2 separate regions of the Homo sapiens genome follow, and region 1 is linked to region 2. The links are contacts of gene promoters, found by promoter capture Hi-C in human tissues and cell types (Jung and others, 2019). All regions are on one chromosome and are shown on one strand. The core of a region is centred on a gene start or on the middle of the fragment in contact, and the rest is flanking DNA. Distances in the headings are between cores, read along the strand shown.

The links. The method cuts DNA at HindIII sites, captures the fragments that hold promoters and counts their contacts. A contact is called where the count stands out against the background at its distance.
Region 1: a contact is called between a fragment that was not itself captured here and the fragment with the promoter of ZNF423 in region 2, in 1 of the 25 tissues and cell types used here (lymphoblastoid cells).

Annotation. Positions count from the first base shown.
Region 1 is chr16:49,289,342-49,292,138 of GRCh38, reverse strand. SYNAGE (synapse stability regulating cerebellar lncRNA) reads right to left here. Exons shown (of 4, transcript XR_933530.4): 3 at 2,484-2,797; 4 at 1-2,401. Among named protein-coding and RNA genes, the nearest start is that of SYNAGE, 8.7 kb to the right of the region's middle. The HindIII fragment of the contact is 3,032 bases long and covers 1-2,797 here.
Region 2 is chr16:49,854,807-49,857,573 of GRCh38, reverse strand. It overlaps ZNF423 (zinc finger protein 423), which reads left to right and starts at 1,462. Exons shown (of 8, transcript NM_001379286.1): 1 at 1,462-1,839. The coding sequence starts at 1,800. RefSeq lists a silencer at 1,959-2,218. The HindIII fragment of the contact is 13,140 bases long and covers 1-2,767 here.

The sequences.
Region 1 (2,797 bases), core at 112-2,611, 570 kb after region 2:
ACACTAGACATCATTCACAAAAAGAGAACTGCTTTTGAAAGGGATGTATTTGCACTGGAAAGAATAGTTTTCTACTTCTAATTATAAATGATTTATTGGTGAAAGCAAAACAACAGCCTGTCTGAGAGGCACTTCTATGAGCATCCTCACGTGTGATTTGCAAGGTTGAAGAAGAGGGAAAAATGCCTCAATTGTACCAATGGTGAGAAAACACCCAAAGTACAAAGCAGGTTTCAAAAAAACCATACTCATAACCAAGGACAATAATAAAGCAATGTGTTGACATATACTCTATAAGTCTTCCTCCATAAATAGTTTATAGAAATTTTGTAATTTCTGTAAATGCATCCTATAATAATTTTGCATCTTGCTTTTTTTTTACATTTAATATCAAGTAGATTTCTAAAGGGCAATTATTTGAAAATTATCCCAAATACATGGGGAAATATACATCAAGTGAAAAAATGCAGTGGGTGATAGAGATATCAGGAAGCGCCTCAAATATTTCTCATCTCGTTGGAGAAAAACAAACATGTTCTCATTTAGAATGAGTGGGAGTTACCTAATTGATTTAGGCCTCTATATTTAACTTCTAGTCAAAAAAGGTAGTTCTATCTAGCAACAATATTATGGGGAACAAAAGAAAAAATTAACTCTCTAAATTTGCAGTAGGGTCTTTTCTTCAGAAGTACCAAATCCCATCTATTACCAGCTCCATGCTTCAGGCCTAAAATGGATCTCCCTGAAGCAATGACAGAATTTTTGCCAAGTGACTAGGATATAAACACCACTTTGGTTGCACAGTGAGACATATGCTCCAAAGAAAACTGGTTCAAAAACAGGCAAGTGGGTTTCTACAGAATAAATGAGAGCCCTGTCAATGGCTTCATCTTCAGGGCTTTGTGTCTGTGCTTGCGTGGTGGCTCTTGTTTCATCTATGGATAATGGTGGCACACAGTTTTCATAATTCCTTACATTAATGAACTGCTATAAATTTGTTTTTGGTATTCTAGAGAGTCCTAACTTCAGCTTCTGGGCAATGCTGAGGAGGCACCCTATATTCTAGACTTACCTTTTGCAAGGTGTACTCTCAGCATTGTGGGCGATTTCCATGGGAGAATATTCTATTTAAAGAACTACTGTCCCAGCATAAAACAAAAAATCATTTATGAAGATGCAGGAGACTCGGAAAGCTCTCAATTATTGTTTGCACAAGCACAATGTCACAGCCTCCTTTCCCCATTCCACAAGGGGGTCAGGAAGAGAGTACTCAGCTGTGAGAAAAGACATACAGAAGAATTCATGTGGTCATGAGAGCGAGGACATGGCCGATCCCCCAAGGAGGATGTGTCATACACTTCATGAGCCCAAGAGTGTGCTGTAGGGTCTGAAGGGCAAGATGCTGGTTCACTGATGTAAAGGAGAGGGAAAAAAGCTTCAACCAACTAGAAAAACAGTCTCTATGCATGCTATTTTTGATTTTAAACACAGGTATCAATTCCTTCTCTCAGAGAGTCCATTTTAAAATAGGATACATTTTTAAAGGAATATTTAAAGGACACATTCATTAAAATTTATTTTAAAAACTTTTCAAAAGAAACAAAAGGTATGAATTTTATTTAATCCTTGAGGAAATGGTTCTTTTCTCACACACATAAATCACTCATTTTGTTTTTCTTTATCTCCTTTATTAATCTACATTAGAAAAATAAACTTTTCATACACTAAGAACAAGGAAACCACTCTCAATTGACAAAATGTTCCAATCCAACACAATGATTACTTTCACCTTTAATTTACAGGCAGCCAGATTCAAAATCCTTAAAGTTGCTTAAACTTAAAAATGACAATGACAACCTAAAAGGTATAATGTTGATTGGAACAGACATTTAATTGGAAAATTGATGATTTTCCATTTCCAATTAAATCTCTAGATAGAAATGAAAAAAATTAAAAATCGTATTTAAGAAAAGCCAAATCTTGGGTTGTGAGGTATCTTTTTAAGGATGTTTCAGCAGAAAAAAACAAAGGCTCTCACAATTGTGTAGCTGCCTAGATTAAGTGGGTATCCTGATCAAGGAGATGGGGGATGATTTGGCTTTAGTATTCCAATGATAAAGTTTATAATGAGAATAACATGTTGCTACAAAATCCAGTCTCTTCCTCAGATGCCTTCCACAGAGGGCAGGAAGCTTTGTCAGTTTTGTTTGCTGATGATGCCTGGTTCCGTCAACAAATAACACCTGTCACACGGTGGGTAGTCAATATACATTTGTTGAATAAATATGAAAAAAAGAAATGTACAATATGTTTGTGAAGCCAACTGTGTGTGCATTGCTATTGAGGTACACAAAAAGTCTTTGTTTTAAATTTGAGAATGAGGACTTTCAATGGAATATATCTATAAAAATGAAAAAAAGACATTACTGTCTGGACTTTTGTACAGCAAGAGAAGAAAAACCACTAGCCAAGAGCCAACTCACCTGATAGGCCTGGATCAAGCATGCAGCTGTGGAGAACACCCCTGGGACTCTAACTCTGGCACTCTGCAAGCTGGGTACTTGGGCAGGACAGCAGCAGCACTCATGAACTGGGCAGCACCTGTTGGTGAGGGCTGATCACATGGATTCTCTCATCCCAGCCTTACAATCAGTCCTTCAGGTACATACTTTTTCTGACTTTGCTGATGAGGAAACTATGCACAGAGGTTACACAGCTTAACAAAGGGTTCTCACCTAATGAACAATGAAATGGGATTTTAGCCTTTCTTTGCATCTGGTCTTAGAGCCAATACCCA
Region 2 (2,767 bases), core at 213-2,712:
GCAGAGCCAGGTCCCTGGATAGTTCATGTGCGTGAGGCATACATCGCGAGGTGGCAATACTAGGGCAGCCCAACTCCGTTTGCTCCCCCATTCTTTCACTTTTTACAGTTTGTGAGGCTCATGCGTCTTGGCGAGCTTGACAGCCGCGTGGGCCCTAAGTGTGTTCCCTCCTCCTGCCCCCGGTGCAGCCAGCGCCCGAGCCCCGGCCCCGCGTGCTGGTGCGGTGCCCGCGCCCGCGCCGTGCCTGCCGCCGCCGCCGCCGCCGCCACCACGGTCCGGGTTTTGCGGGCGGCCGGAGCTGTATTTCCAGCGCTGTCCATCGCTCGGTGCTGTTGGCCCTCTCTCCGTCTGATCCGAGCCGGAGCAGTGCGGGGCGCCCCACGGGATCAGAGCGCTCCCCCGCCGGGACTCCGCTCCTCACATCCTCCTGCTGGGACCCGGCTACATTTCCAGCCAAGCCTGGCTTTATTATGTGTCTCTGCAGTGCAGCCCCAGCAGCCGGATCGGGAGGAGGAGAGCCAGCGACCACAAAGAAGACAGGAGCGCGAGGGAGGCTGGCGGGCGGGCCGGCGCCGGCTGGAGCGCGGAGGAGCCGGGGCGCAGCCGCCGCCGCCGCTGCCCAGGAGGACGGGAGCCCGGCCGCCGCCGCCGCCGCCTGCTCGTCCTCCTCTTCCGCCACCGCGGCCGCCGCCTCCCCCCTCTCCGAGCCCCTGGCCCATGGAGGCAGCTAGCGGGGCCGGCGACTTGGCACCGGCCTGGGGATCGGCTGCGCGCCTCGCGCTGAGCACCGCAGCCCGAGGGCAGGCAGCGGCGGCCCGGCGCACGGGCTGAGCGATGCCCGGGGCACGGGCGCGCCTGCCGGCCGCCGCCTGAGCGCCCCCGCGCGCCCCTTCCTCCTCCGGGGGGCCGGCGCCGGGCCGATCCGAGAGCCAGAGAAGGGGGCGTGAGCCAGGGGCCCCGAGCCGCGGCTTCCGAGCCACTGCGGCCGTTTCGAGCCTCCCCTCCAAGTAGGCTGAGTTGAGGGACCCCCGCCCCCCATCCATCATAATCTCCAAACCAGGCGCTTGGGCATTTTTGAGCCATTAATATTTATTATTTTTTTTTGTGCGGCAGGGGATAATTCGAAGGCTTCTTTTTTTTTTTTTTCCTGGGGGGTACTGAGCTTCCGCGCTCCCGACCGCCTCCCGGTCTCCTCCCCCCTTGAGATACCCTCGACTCCAGCCCCGTTCCCCCTCCTCAGATGGGTTCATTGTGAGCTCCGCACCGGGCTGCGTGGCCGGACGCCTGCAAACTTTGCACAAAAATCCGGCAAGGGGCGGAGGAGGAGGAGAAGGAGGAGGAGGGTGAGGGTGGCGGTAGGGTGGGGGAGGGAAGGAGGGGGCCGCAGGGGCCGGGGGCCGGCGGGGGGTTGGGAGGAGGAGGGGGGCGGCTTTTTTTTTTTTTTTTTTTTTTTTTTTTTTGCATAACTCGGCTCGGCCGAGTGGCCTCCGGACTCCCCGCGCCGCTGGGACCGCCGCTTGGATCGGGAGCCCCGGACTGCCGCATTGCAACAGGCAGGGCCCCGGCGCGCCCCCCGGGCCTCCCCCCGCCTTCGAGCGGCCTCGGCCGGCCCGGGCTGCCCCCCCAAGGGAGGCCGCCCCGGACCTGCGGTCCGCTCCCCACAGCCGCCAACCGGGCTGCAAAAAAAAAAGTTTCCAAGAGACAGGCGGAGGAGAAGGGGGAGAAGGGCTGCCCGGAGCGGCGGGGGGCGGCGGGGGGAGCCGGCTGCGGAGGGCGACGGAGCGCCCGGAGCCCCGGACATGTCCAGGCGGAAGCAGGCGAAGCCGCGCTCGGTGAAAGGTGAGCGAGCGAGGCCCGGCGGAGGCGCGAGCGAGCGAGCGAGGAGGGAGGGAGCGAGGGAGGAGGGACCGGCGAGCGGGCTGGCTGCCGGGGACCCGCGCGAGCGAGCCGAGAGGAGGAGGAGGAGGCGGCAGAGGAGGCGGAGGCGGAGGCGGAGGCGGAGGAGGGGGAGGAGGAAGCCGGGAGCAGGAGGCGGAGGCGGCGGCGGCGGCGGCGGCGGCGGAGGGGGTACGCCGCGGACACCCTCCCTGCCCGGACTCGGCGCCGTCGCCCTTGGGGGACCCAGGCCTGGGGGCGCCGCTAAGGGGCCCTTGCCGCTCCCTCCGTGCGGGGCCCGGGCCCGTGTGGCCAATCAAGGGGTGCTGGCCCGACTTGGCGGGGATTGCGAATCTCGGCGGCGGCGGGCGGGCGACAGGAGGAAGGAAGAGGCGGCGAGGACGGGCGCCCGGCAGGCCGACCGCTCCTCGCTGGCCCCGGGCCTCGCTGGCTCTCTCTGGCCCCTGCCTGGTCGCCCGAGGACGCGGGGAGCGGCGGGCGCTGTCGGCGAGCGCCCCGGGCGCCGCGCCCTCGCCCCGGCCGCCTGGCGCCCCCTCCCGCCCCTGCCCAGGCCTTCTCCCGGCCCGGGCCCCTGCACTTCCTGCCTCCTCCACCGAGGCCCACCGGGCAGGGAGCCTCCGCCAGGAGTTCATTGTCTGCACGGCGCCGGCGGGACGCAGGTCCTCAGGGGAGCTCAGCGGCCGCGGTGCGCGCCCCTCCGCGGAGGGCGCCCCGGATCTGACCCCGGGCACCGGCACCCTGGATCTGACCCCGGGCACCGGCACCCTCGACACCCAGGCCGGCTTTCTGTGCTGGCTCCCCGGGGTGCGCGCGTTTGTGGGGAGCTGCAGATATATAGATACACACACCCATCCCTTCGTCTCCACGCTTT